Linked DNA regions of Homo sapiens: region 1 is linked to region 2. Evidence: promoter capture Hi-C in 16 types of primary human blood cells and fetal thymus (Javierre and others, 2016). All regions are on one chromosome and are shown on one strand. Each heading gives the region's core, a stretch centred on a gene start or on the middle of the fragment in contact. The rest is flanking DNA. Distances are from core to core; before and after follow the strand shown. Region 1 overlaps STOM (stomatin). Region 2 holds the start of CNTRL (centriolin).

Region 1 (6,845 bases), core at 486-2,985, 280 kb before region 2:
TGCACACCAGATGAAGGAAGTCCACACAAGGCTCTGAGAGAGAATTCTTCCAGAAGATAAAATTGATAGTATACCTGACCTCTTTGAGAGGAAATTTAGGCAATTGATTTAAGGTTGGATCAATAAGTACGTTGAAAACCGAACAAAGGGAAAAAATAAGACAGTAATTCCAGAAAAAACAAAAATAGTACAGGAAGAGAAAACCAGTGATACCTCACTACTTGGCTTAGCTTTAAATTGCACTTACAAATTCATAATATAAAATCTCATATTGATCTAAATGAAGTTATGATGTAATTATATTGGAAAGCTGGGTATAAGTATGTGGTGGGGGTAACGGGGAGGAAAGAGAACTAAATCTTTTTCTGTAGTAGAAAGTTAATAGTCCTCAAAACTGAAAAAGCAAGAAGTAACAAAACAAGCATTTCCTTCCTTCCTTCCTTCCTTTTCTTTCTTTCTTTCTTTCCTCACTTTGTTGTCCAGGCTGGGGTACATCACAGCTCACTGCAGCCACGAACCCCCAGGCTCAAGCAATCCCCCTATTTCAGTCTCCTCAGTAGCTGGGACTACAGGTGTGTGCCACCACACACAGCTAATTTTTTTTAAGAAGTTTCAAGTAGAGATGGGAGTCTCACTAGGTTGCCCATGCTGGTCTCAAACTCCTGAGCTCAAGCAATCCTCCCATCTCGGCCTCCCAAAGTGCTGGGATTACAGGCGTGAGCCACCATGCCTGGCAGAAGCATATTATTATTATTATTTTTTTTTTTTTTAAAGTAGAGACAGAGTCTCCCTATGTTGCCCAAGCTAGTCTCAAACCCCTGGGCTCAAGGGATCCTCCCTCCTCAGCCTCCCAAAGTGCTGGGATTACAGGTGTGACCCCTGCACCCAGCTGCAAAGCGTATTATTTAGAAATATGGAGGTAGATATCAAAATGGTCAAAATAGCAAATGTTTTTGAGGAGGAGGAAATTGGAAGAGGTGAGCATGGGAATGCCCTTTTTTTGTACTAATCATATAGAATGGTTTGACTTTTTAAACTTTATGCAAGTGTAACTTCAAAAACACAAATGCATAACCACGAAGGCCAAAAAAGAAGGTGAAAGAGAATAGCTACAGGGAAGAAAAATAGGTTACACATTTTATTTATTTATTTATTTTTAAAAATATGATTTAAGGCCGGGCGCAGTGGCTTATGCCTGTAATCCCAGCACTTTGGAAGGCCATGGTGGGCAGATCACTTGACGTCAGGAGTTCGAGGCCAGCCTGGCCAACATGGTGAAACCCCATCTGTACTAAATACAAAAAGTAGCCGGGTGTGGTGGCAGGTGGCTGTAATCCCAGCTACTCAGGAGATTGAGACGGGAGAATCGCATGATCCCAGGAGGTGGAGGTTGCAGTGAGGTGAGACTGTGCTGCTGCACTCCAGCCTGGGCAACAGAGCAAGACTCTGTCTCAAAAAATAAATAAATAAATATATATATATATATCATTTAAAAATATGGTGTGTACACTAGGAAAATTTTCAAAGAATATACCAAAATACCTCTGAATTTAAAGTAATTTTTCCCTCCTTTGTTATACTTCTGTGAATTTTTTGCATTATTACCTTTGTAATCAGACGGAAAAGCTGTTGCATATTACAGGAACAGGAAACAATTAGAAATGTGAGAGGAAAGCCGTGTACAAAGATGTTCACTACAACACTGTTTATAGCACTAAGAAATCAAACAACCTGTGTAATCAGGAAGTGGGCAATAAATGATGCTGCATAAACCTAGTGAAATATTTTACAGGTGTAATTTTTAAAAAGAGGCTCTAAACAACTTTATACTCATATCATATGGTTTTCACCTTTATTCGTACTGTACTCCTAGCTAAAATGCTCTAATGCCTTTTCCCTCTTTCCTTTTTCTTTTCTTTTCTTTTCTTTTGACAGATTCTTCCTCTGTTGCCCAGGCTGGAGTGCAGTGGTACAATCTTGGCTCACTGCAACCTCCACCTCCTGGGTTCATGCAATTCTCCTGCCTCAGCCTTCCCAGTAGCTGGGATTACAGGCACTCACCACAACGCCTAGCTAATTTTTGTATTTTTAGTAGAGACGGGGTTTTATCATGTTGATCAGGCTGGTCTTGAACTCTTGACCTCAAGTGATCCACCTGTCTCGGCCTCCCAAAGTGCTGGGATTACAGGCGTGAGCCACGACGCCCAGCCTCCACTTTCTTTTCGTCGATATTTTCTTACTATTACATCCTTCAGGAAACCCTCTGACAGCCACCTGAATCACCTCCCCGCCCCATTCCTTTCTCACCTCCATCCTAACTGCGTGAGTTAACTCATTCTGTGTCTTCAAAATATTCTGAACAGATACTCTATATCTGTACTTACCACCTAATATTATAATTATGTGTTTGTCTGACTTTCCCACTAAACTTTAACCCTGAAAGCTGGGATTGGGTCTTACTCATTGTTATCATTTCAGTACAAAGCAGAGGGCCTAATAAATAGTAGATGCTTAATAAATGTTTGCTGAATAAAGTAATGAGTAATGTGGAAATATACTTGTGTTATGACATCACATAGATAAGGGAAAGTAGTACTTACACTTCAGGGCTGTATGAGGATTAGATGGGGAAATTCATGTAAAACAGCTGGTGTAGTGCCAAGCACATAGGTATTCAGCGAATGGTAAGGATGAAGATGGTGGTGATTATGCTAGTAACAGTTGTGAGAGTTGTATATTTTTTGTTTTCAACAGACAGCCCCAGTAAGGGCCTTGGACCTTGCGGATGGATTTTGGTGGCGTTCTCATTCTTATTCACCGTTATAACTTTCCCAATCTCAATATGGATGTGCATAAAGGTAAAGAACATTTCATTCACTTCTGGGAAGGGGTCAACTCCTACCTCCATAAACCTACTTCGTGTGTGCCTGTGTGTATGTGAGAAAGAAACAGACTGTCTCTCTCTCTTATAATTCTTATTTCTTCATCTTTCTTTGGAAAATTTATTCTTCTACCCACCTATTAAAATGGAACCTTAAAACTTCTTTTCAGCCATTGCCCTTCCCCGTGGGCTAAAGTAAGTTTCACCATCAAAAATTTCCTGGGGCCAGGGATGTGAGATGGTTCTGAGAGAACAAGTTCTTCAGAGTTAGGATGATAGGGTTTGACTGCTGGCTTTACTGTTTATTGTGTGACCTTTGCTGTTTCCTCACCTGTAAAATGGGAGAAAGTAACAGTACCTACTTCATAGGAGTGTTGCGAGGATTAAATGAATTATGTGTCTAAATGTACTTATCACAATGCCTGGCACGTCATAAATACCCTCAGTGCTCGTTATTTTTTCTACAAAGTTGTTAATACTTTGATATATGACTATTATTTACATATTTCTAAGAAGATAAAATATGCTCCAAGCATTTTCAGATCAATTTATTCTTAAGGGAATCAGAAGAAAAACTGTGAAGACTTCAGCTTTTTGTGTTTCTGAATTAACAATGCATGAGTAATTTTTTTTTTTTTTTTTGAGCCAGAGCCTTGCTCTGTCGCCCAGGCTGGAGTGCAGTGGCGCGATCTCGGCTCACTGCAACCTCCGCCTCCCAGGTTCAAGCGATTCTTCTGCCTCAGCCTCCCGTGTAGCTGGGATTATTATTATTATTATTATTTTTTTTTTTTTTTTTTTGAGACGGAGTCACCTTGTGGCCCAGGCTGGAGTGCAGTGGTGCGATCTCGGTTCAAGTGATTCTCCTGTCTCATCCTCCCTTGTAGCTTGGATTATAGGCACCCACCACCATACCCGGATAATTTTTGTATTTTTAGTAGAAACAGGGTTTCACCATGTTGGCCAGGCTGGTCTTGAACTCCTAACCTCCGTGATCTGCCCACCTCGGCCTTCCAAAATGCTGAAATTACAGGCGTGAGCCACCGTGCCTGGCCTGCATGAGTAACTGAATAACAATGTTAACAGCTGAGGAGTGAGGTTATGGATTTGTTTCTGTATACTATTCTGTCCTTCCTAAATTTATACAGTGAATATCTATTGCTTTTGTAATCAGTAAGAAAATAATAAATAAGCTTTGAGAAGGTAAACATTGGACATGTGATTTATAGATATGATCTGGTTCTAAAGAAAAAAGATGAGGCATCTAATCTGTTTAGAGCAGAAATATATATTTAAGAAGCCATGCATGTATATATTTGTACTCTTCATGTTAAATTATTATTCATGTTTTTATTCTAGATTATAAAAGAGTATGAAAGAGCCATCATCTTTAGATTGGGTCGCATTTTACAAGGAGGAGCCAAAGGACCTGGTCAGTACTGGGATTCTAGATTGTTTATCTGAAAACTAAAGTTCTTTTTATTTTTTTTATTTTTAGGTAGTTGTTTTTTTAAAGACAGGGTTTCATTCCGTCGCCCAGGCTGGAGTACAGTGGCATGCTCATGTCTCACTGCAGCCTTGAACTCCTGACCTCAAGCAATCATCCCACCCCAGCTTCCCAAAGCACTAGGATTACAGACGTGAGCCACCGTGCCCAGTCTAAAATTTTTTTATTGACGTGATTTCCCTTATGAGGGCCTCTTCTACTCTGTCTTAGATAAGAGTTCATGTAGCAGGAGTTGTATAACAATAGCAGTGGTTCTAGCCAATCTTTTGTTACCCTTTCCTTCCTACCCTTCCCCTCCCCTTCCCATTTGAGCTGATAAGATTACCACCTAGGCCAAGAACAGTACAGCTATACAAGTTTGAGCATGAGAATCTCTACCAAAGAAAGACTTTCAGTCATTCATTTGGCAAACTTCAATTAAGCTCCTACTGTGTTCCAGGTTCTGGGAATTCAAGGGAGACTAAAACACAGTCCCTACCCTCAAGGATCTTCCTATCTAGTGGTAGGAACCAACAAGGAAACAGATAGCTACAATCCTATGTGATAAGTATTATGATCAAGTACTCACAGAGAGCTGTGAGAAAAGAGAAAACCAGAGAAGTGTTACTGATCTGAACTAGTCGTAGGCTGAGTCAAGGCTTTCTGGAAGTTACATCTTGACTGAGTCTTGAGGTCTGAAAAGGTGTTAACCAACAGGAGGTGTTTGCGGCGGAAATAGCAACATACACAAAGCAACAAAGAGGAGAGTATTGCAGATTCAAGAAACTGCAAGTAGATCAGTCCAGCAAGAGTGCAGGGTGTGAAGAGAGAGGAAGTGGCTGAAGAGGGGAACAAAGGCGGGTTATGCAGGACCATGCGTGGGGGAGGGTTTGTATTTTAGGGGGGATTGCTCGGCTTGCAGCTTAGGAAATAGATTATAGGAGAGAAACTACAAAAAATAGAAAGATGGCCTGGGAAACGATTGCATTGGTCCCAGTGGGGCGGTGGGGAGAAGAGTGATAGCAACAGTAGATTAAGGAAATGAACTCCACAGACCTTAGTGGAGACAGTCAAATGTGGGAAGTAAGCAAGAGGAATCAAAGTTATCATTCCTGGCTTCTGGCTCATTCACGAAGATGAACTGGTGACTTTTCAGTTCACTAGGTTGATTTTCTTAAAACTGAATGGAGAAGTGAACTGATTAGGTTGCTGGTGTCTGTATAATGTGTGTATCTTTGTTGCAGGTTTGTTTTTTATTCTGCCATGCACTGACAGCTTCATCAAAGTGGACATGAGAACTATTTCATTTGATATTCCTCCTCAGGAGGTAAGGTTTTCTTTGAATAACTGAGGTATCATATGTGAAAGTGCTTTACAATGAGGGACAGAATAGTTAGAGTGTAGGCTTTATTTATTTATTTATTTTAAATTTTTGTTTGTTTGTTTGTTTGTTTTAATTGGAATCTTGCTCTGTCACCCAGGCTGAAGTGCAGTAGTGTGATCTCAGCTCACTGCAACCTCCGCCGCCTGGGTTCAAGTGATTCTCGTGCCTCAGCCTCCCGAGTAGCTGAGACTATAGATGTGCGCCACCACGCCCGGCTAATTTTTTTGTATTTTTAGTAGACACGGGATTTTGCCATGTTGGCCAGGCTGGTCTCGAACTCCTGACCTCAGGTGATCCGTTCTGGCCTCCTAAAGTGCTGGGATTACAGGCATGAGCCACCGTTCCCTGCCAGAGCACAGGCTTTAGACCTTGACTGCCTTCAGCATTTCTAGCTCAGTGACCTTAAGCAAGTTCTTTAACTTTTCTGTGCCTCAGTTTCCTCATCCAGAAAATAGACATTTGTAATAGTAAGAACTACTGTATAAGGTGGTTCTGAGAAGTGAGATATATGTGCCAAGTGCTTAGAGCAATGGCTGACAAATAGTAAGTGCTATATAAGTTCTTACTGTTACTATTACAGTTGGCCCTTTGCATGCATGGGTTTTGCATACAGGGATTCAGCCAACCGCAGACTGAAAATATTAGGAAAAAACTCCACAAAGTTCCAAAAAGCAAAACTTGAATTTGCCATGCATCAAGCATGGCATTGAATCCACATGAATAAAGTGATGTGTAGGTATTGTATTGGATAATAGAAGTAATCTAGAGATGATTTAAAGTGTACAGGAAAATGTACATAGATTATACGGTTGGCTCCATGGATCAAAAATATTTAGGGAAAAAAGCAATTGACAATGATACAATAATACAAATTTTTAAAAACGGTGTAGTATAGCAACTATTTATGTAGTATTTACATTGTGTTAAGTATTATAAGTACTTCAGAAAGGATTTAATGTATAAAGGAGGATGTGCATAAGTTATATGCAAATATTGTGCCACTGTATATAAGAGACTTGAGCATCCTTGGATTTTGGTATCCTCTGAGGGTCCTAGAATCAATCTCCCACAGATACCGAGGAATGATTATTACAAAA
Region 2 (6,640 bases), core at 382-2,881:
TCTCTATCCATCCAGACTTCCCAAGCTGCTCATCTCTCTTCACCCCAGAAAATACCCTGACATCCTAATGCGTTCCAATACTCTGACCTCCAATTACTCCCCTCCCTAAACAAAATACTCAAACCTCCATCCATTCCTCTTCATCCCAACCCAACTGCCTGCCTATTTGCCTTTCCATCCTAATACTCTAGCCCCCGTATCCTTCTCCATCCTATTAAAAGCCTGAATCCCCTCTCCCATCTCTCTTCTTCTGCTCAGATACCCTAAAACTCAAGCTTCCCATCTCTTTCCATTAATTATTCAATTTTATTGAGCAACTTTTATGTAGGAAGAACCATGCTAGAATCTAAGCTCAAGATGCAGAAGATTTTATCTCCCTATTACCCATGATCTCTGCACCAAGCAGTCTCCTTCATAGCATTTTATAACCATTATTTGTGAAACTACTTGGTTGTTGCCTGTTTCTCCTTCTAGACTATAAGCTACAAGAGAGCAGAGGTTTTGTCTGTTGTTCTATAAACAATAAATATTTGTTGACTGAAGGACTGTACTAAACACTTAGACAATACCAAATTTAAATCCTCAAAGATTTAGCTGTATAGGATCAGAATTATTAACCTGATTTACAAATGGCAATGTACCTGAACAGTTAAAAGCTTGGATTCTGGAACGAAACAGCCTGAGTTCAAATTCTGATTTTCCACTTACTGTGTGATCTTAGGCAAATTACTTAACCTCTCTGGTCCTCAGTGCTATCACTTTTTAAATGGGGATGATAACCTCATACAAGTTATTTTAAATTCTAAATGAGGTTAATACGTGCAAAGTGCTTAAAACTGGATCTGACAAATAGTGAACACCCAAAAATGATTCGCAATTATTTGGACAAATGAGGAAACATGATCAGGAAGGCTCAGACACATATCCAGGGTCACAGACCTGGTTAAGTTACACAAGGTGGCAGAATTGAGGCTTCAACCCAAGTTTGTCTGGCTTCAAAATTCTCTAGTCCCTTAACGAATATAACGGAAGTGTTTGTTCTTCCCCTTCTTTTAGCATTTCGTCCCCATATCCTGTCATCTTTCTCCACGCACTGTACTCCGTCCGATACCGTGACAACCCGTCAGGACGCCCAAACTGTCCTTTCTCCCGCTCACTCCCCACAGACAGCTGGCACATCCCAGCTCTCCCCTCAGCTCAGGTGGCAGGACCCACAACCTTCTGGGCGCCGCACCCTAACTTCCACACCTCCCCACACTCTGGTTCTTCATCCCCAATCGCCCCCGCCGTCCCCACCTCTTCCCATCCAAACCTCCCTCCTTCATCCACCGCCCCACGCCCGTTCCGGGCCCTCCCCTCTTTCCCGTCCAATCCCAATTCCCAGACACGCGCCCCCGCCCCGAATCCATCCCAAGCCGGCCCACACCACGCCCGGTCCGGGCCTTCCCGCCTTTGCCGCCGGCCCCCACTGCTCGGGCCGGATGCCGGGGAACGGGCTCGGCCAGGTCTGACGCTCACCGCCTAGAAGCCGAGCCGAGCAGTCCCGCAGGCTGAGGTAGAGCGGGAGAAGTTCGGGCTCTTTCCTCAGGGGCCCAGCGGCGCGGCAGCCATTTTGTTGTGTTGTGCCGGTTGCCGAGGGGCCGCGCGCGCGTGGTCGGGGCTAGTCTCAGCCACGCCCCTCTCCCTCTCCGGTACTGTTGGAAGGGACGCGGAGGCGTTTCCCGCCTCTTTTGCAGCCAGCGCGCTAGGATGCCGGGGAGTCTTGGGCGCGAGGCTTCCGGCCGCGCGGGGCCGACGGGATGCGGTGCCTTCGCCTTCGGATTGCGTTGCAGGTGAAGTGTCGGGTGCAGAGTCAGGGGGAGCCGAGGTTTCATGCGGCAGCTGCCCGCAGTGCTGTGGCCTTCGCTGAGACAAAGCTGCCGCCGCCACCCTCTGAAACACGGACACGCTTCTCAGGGCCTGTGTCCGAGGACGGCCTGAGGCACCGGCGCAGCGCCTCCCCGGCCTCCCCCACTTCTGATGCTTGCGCGCTATGAGCGAGTGTTCTTATCAGCACACTTCTCTCTGACAGTCGTATCTAAAGCGAATTCCCTCCAGGGACCGAACTGCCCAGGCTCGGATGAACCTCAAAGCGGACGCAGCCTGGGCTCCAGCTGTCGCGTGAGGTTCAGGGAGCTTGGGAATCCTAGGCAGAGGATGTTCCTCTGATTGCTACAAGGGAGTTAAAGCAAGAAGCACTTGCACAGGCTTCATCTGGGGCTTGCCCATGAGCACGGCGTTCACGACATGCATTCAACAGATATTTTAAAGAATTTAGCAGATACTGGGCTGGATGCTAGGGAAACACTGAAGTTTTTTTTAAAGTGTTATCACCATTGACGCCTTTCACTCCAGTAGCCTCCCGTTTTGAAGGTATACCCTGGACCATGTTACCATCAGAGGCTGCACCCGCTCCAGAAATCCCCAGTGCAATCGCTCCCCATCCTTGACTATAATCCTATCATCTTAGCAGCGTGCCTGCTCAAAAGACCCCTATGCCAGCGTATTTCTAAACTTCCTTGCGTCTTCCAGTCCCTTGTTCTTACCATTTTCTCGCGATCATTCTATCCTGTCTTCATTTCCTTTCTTCACTACAGAGTTTATAGGCCACCTGTATAACACTTTTAGAAACTCCCTCTCTCTCTGTGTCTCAGTTTCCTTATCTATGAAATGAGGTCCTTTTACCTATTAACACTTCCTACAGTTTTCCTGATAATTATAAAAGTGAATCCTGGCCGGGCGCTGTGGCTCATGCCTGTAATCCCAGCACTTTGGGAGACCAAGGTGGGAGGATCACTTGAGGTCAGGAATTCAAGATCAGCCTGGCCAACAAGGTGAAACGCCGTCTCTACTAAAAATACAAAAATTACCCGGGCGTGGTGGCGCACGCTTGTCATCCCAGCTGCTTGAGAGGCTGCAGGAGGATCGCTTGAACCCGGGAGGCGGAGGTTGCAGTGAGCCGAGATCGCGCCACTGCACTCCAGCCTGGACGACAGAGCGAGACTCCATCTCAAAAAAAAAAAAAAAAAAAAAAAGTCCAGTTTTCCTGATAATTATAAAAGTGAATCTCTGTGAAAGAACTTAGAACAGTGAGGGACCCATAGTAAGTTCTCAATATGTCTTAGATATTTCATTATTAGACAAAGGTTACCCAGAAGCAATACTTCTTTCTACGCCCAAAAGAAGAGTTTAGGCAAGGAGTAGGGAGGTGGGGAAGAATTTGCTTGGCAAAGGGAACAACTTGTGCAAACCCCGGAAGCGGGGGAAAAGAGCTTGGCAATGTGCTGAATGTTAAGTAATTCAGTGTGGCTGGAACAAAACATGAGTATGGAAACATGAAGTAGTTCAGTATGGCTTGTGCAAAAATCTGGGGTGGAGAAGCTAAATCTGGAAAAGGGACCATATTATAAGCAGTATTAGGCACTTCATTTTTCCTTAAGGCAGAGATGGCTTCACCTCTATAGGAAATTCAGGGGACGTCCAACAGGGAATAAGCTGCAATAAACATGGGGATGCAGATGTGTCTTTGATTTACTTTGATTTACTGATTTCCTTTTCCTTTTACTTAAATGTGATTCCCATTGACATTTAAGTGAATGGTGCTGTCCTCTCCCCAACTATTTACACGACACAGAACGAAGCCCTTGGAGTTTAAACGCAGAATTTTTGAAAAGCTCCACTTAAGAGGAGATTACATTCATTTTTTTTCTTTTCTTTTTTTTTTTTTTTTTTTTAATTTTTTGAACAGAGTCTGGCTCTGTCACCCAGGCTGGAGTGCAGTGGCAGGATCTCGGCTCAGTGCAACCTCCGCCTCCCGGGTTCAAGCGATTCTCCTGCCTCAGCCTCCCGAGGAGTTGGGATTACAGGCACGCACCACCAAGGCCAGCTAATTTTTGTATTTTAGTAGAAACAGAGTTTCACCATGTTGGTCAGGCTGGTCTCAATCTCCTGACCTCACGTGATCCGCCCGCCTCGGCCTCCCAAAGTGCTGGGATTACAGGCGTGAGCCACCGCGCCCTGCCGAGATTACATTCATTTTTAATCGAAGTTCAGGTGATATTTATTAGATTGGAATGTGTACGTTGCTGAGTTTCAGTTCTATTTGCATATGTTTTGACACCCATCGTTTCGGTTTCTTGTACCCAGAAACTTAGATTTATTGCGTAACCTCATTGCTGTGTCCCTCAAAGTCTGTAATGGTATTCACGTGGGATCCATTATCAAGCCGTGGTGTGCTGATGTAGTTCATTATCAATCATATTAGTATCAATTAATAGCCATCAAATATACATAAAAAGTCCAGAGGGTGGCGCAAAACACTTTTCTCTTGGGTGATCTCTCAGTCCGTATCCAGTTAGCCGCGGATGGGCACTCACCGGTCCCATGTTGCCCCCTTTTCCTCCTCATACAGACCTCTGCTGGTGTCTAGCATCATCTCTAACGAAGCTAGAGACTTCAAAGGAGAGACCTTTCTCCAGTTAATTTGAATATTAACTGTCTCTCTTAGCATGCTAAAAGAACTTCCTTCTCCAAAGCAGAAGTGAGAATACGAAAGTAACGCAGACAACTCGCGTTCCACACTATTTTTCTTTATCTGATATTATGAAGAATGTACTCTGAGTTGCATTTACAATACAAATATTAGCCACGTCAGGGTGACCAAGCTTTTACTCAGTCTTTTTTCCAAATGATAGCAAAGCTATTCTGTTTAAACTTCCCTCAGCTTTTTGCAACCCAGTTTAATCATTTTGCGAATTTGTTTTAGAGAAGAAACAGACTAGTTTGTCAGACAGGGATGGCAACTTTCATTATTGCCATTTCTTTCTGTGACTGGCCAGTGTGATTTTGTTGTTTTGTTTTTTAAGACAAGGTCTCACTCTGTCACCCAGGTTTCAGTGCAGTGACACAATCATAACTCACTGCAGCCTTGACTTCTCAGACTCAAGTGATCCTCCTCCCTCAGCCTCCCAAATAGCTCAGTCTATAGGTGTGCACCACCACACCTAGCTAATTTTTAAACTTTTTGTAAAGATGGGGTCTTGCTGTGTTGCCCAGGCTGGTCTTAAACTCCTGGGCTCAAGCGATCCTCCCACCTCAACCTCCCAAAGTGCTGGGATTACACGCATGAGCCAGCATGCCCAGCCTGATTTTTTTTTAATTTTTATTCATTTATTTTTTTTTGTTTTTGTTGGTGTGTTTTGTTTTTTGTTCTTGTTTTTGTTTTTTTGAGACAGAGTCTCACTCTGTTGCCCAGGCTGGAGTGCAGTAGCACGATCATGGCTCACTGCAACCTCCACCTCCAGGGTTCAAACAATTTTTGTGCCTTAGCCTCCCCAGTAGCTGTGATTACAGGTGTGTGACTCCACGCCCAGCTATTTTTGTGTATGTGTGTGTATTTTTAGTACAGACAGTGCTTCACCATGTTGATCAGGCTGGTCTTCAACTCCTGGCCTCAAGTATCCGCTTGCCTTGGTCCCCCAAAGTGCTAGGTTTGTAGGTGTGAGTCACCATACCCAACCTTAATTTTTATTTTTAAATGACATGTAGTAACTGTACATATTTATGGGATACATAGTGATGTTTTAATACATATAAATGTATAGTGGTTGGAGTAATTAGCATATCCATCATCCCAAACATCATATGTTTATTTTAGGAAGATTTCATACCCTCCTTCTAGCTATTTGAAACTATATAATATATTATTGTTAACTATCCTCATCCTATAGTAAGTATAGAACACTAGAACTTATTGCTCCTATCTAGCTATAATTTTGTATCCTTTAAGATATCTTTCTCTCCTTCCCTTCCCCCTGCTACCCTTCCCAACCTTTAGTATCCTCTGTTCTACTGTTTACTCCTATGAGATCAACATTTTTCAGCTTCGACATATGACTGAGAACATGTGGCATTTAACTTACTGTTCCTGGCTTATTCACGTAATATACTGTCTTCCATTTCCATCCGTGTTGCTGTGAATTACAGTATTTCATTCTTTTTTATGGCTGAATAGTATTCCATTGTAAGTATGTATGTATATATATATGAATACGCACACACACACATATATATACACATACAGAATATACATATATATATACACATACAGAATATACATACATATATATATATATATATATATATATATATATATATATATATCACCCTTCCTTCCTTCCTTCTTTCTTTCTTTCAGAATTTTGTTCTTGTTGCCCAGGCTGCAGTGCAATGGCATGATCTCAGCTCACCGCAACCTCTGCCTCCTAGGTTCAAGCGATTCTCCTGCCTCAGCCTCCCGAGTAGCTGGGATTAGAGGCGCCTGCCAACATACCCAGCTAATTTTGTATTTTTAGTAGAGATGGGGTTTCTCCATGTTGGTCAGGCTAGTCTCGAACTCCTGACCTCAGGTGATCCACCTGCCTCGGCCTCTCAAAGTGCTGGGATTACAGGCATGAGCCACTACGTCTGGCCCACATTTTCTTTATCCATTCATCTGTTGGACACCTAGGTTGATTCCATGTCTTGGCTATTATGAATAGTGCTGCAATAAACATGGGGATGCAGACGTGTCTTTGATATACTGATTTCTTTTCCTTTGGAT

The links. The method cuts DNA at HindIII sites, captures the fragments that hold promoters and counts their contacts. A CHiCAGO score of 5 or more calls a contact.
Region 1: a fragment that was not itself captured here is called in contact with the fragment with the promoter of CNTRL in region 2 in 1 of 17 cell types (neutrophils); the score reaches 5.2 in neutrophils.

Annotation. Positions count from the first base shown.
Region 1 is chr9:121,352,066-121,358,910 of GRCh38, reverse strand. STOM (stomatin) reads left to right here. Exons shown (of 7, transcript NM_004099.6): 2 at 2,755-2,858; 3 at 4,238-4,310; 4 at 5,609-5,691. Among named protein-coding and RNA genes, the nearest start is that of STOM, 15 kb to the left of the region's middle. RefSeq lists an enhancer at 4,689-4,908. The HindIII fragment of the contact is 4,677 bases long and covers 1-4,073 here.
Region 2 is chr9:121,069,946-121,076,585 of GRCh38, reverse strand. CNTRL (centriolin) reads right to left here and starts at 1,631. Exons shown (of 44, transcript NM_007018.6): 1 at 1,519-1,631. It also overlaps a transcript of C5 not described here. RefSeq lists silencers at 1,227-1,366, 1,487-1,546, 2,171-2,367 and enhancers at 1,667-2,056, 4,410-4,459. The HindIII fragment of the contact is 4,047 bases long and covers 659-4,705 here.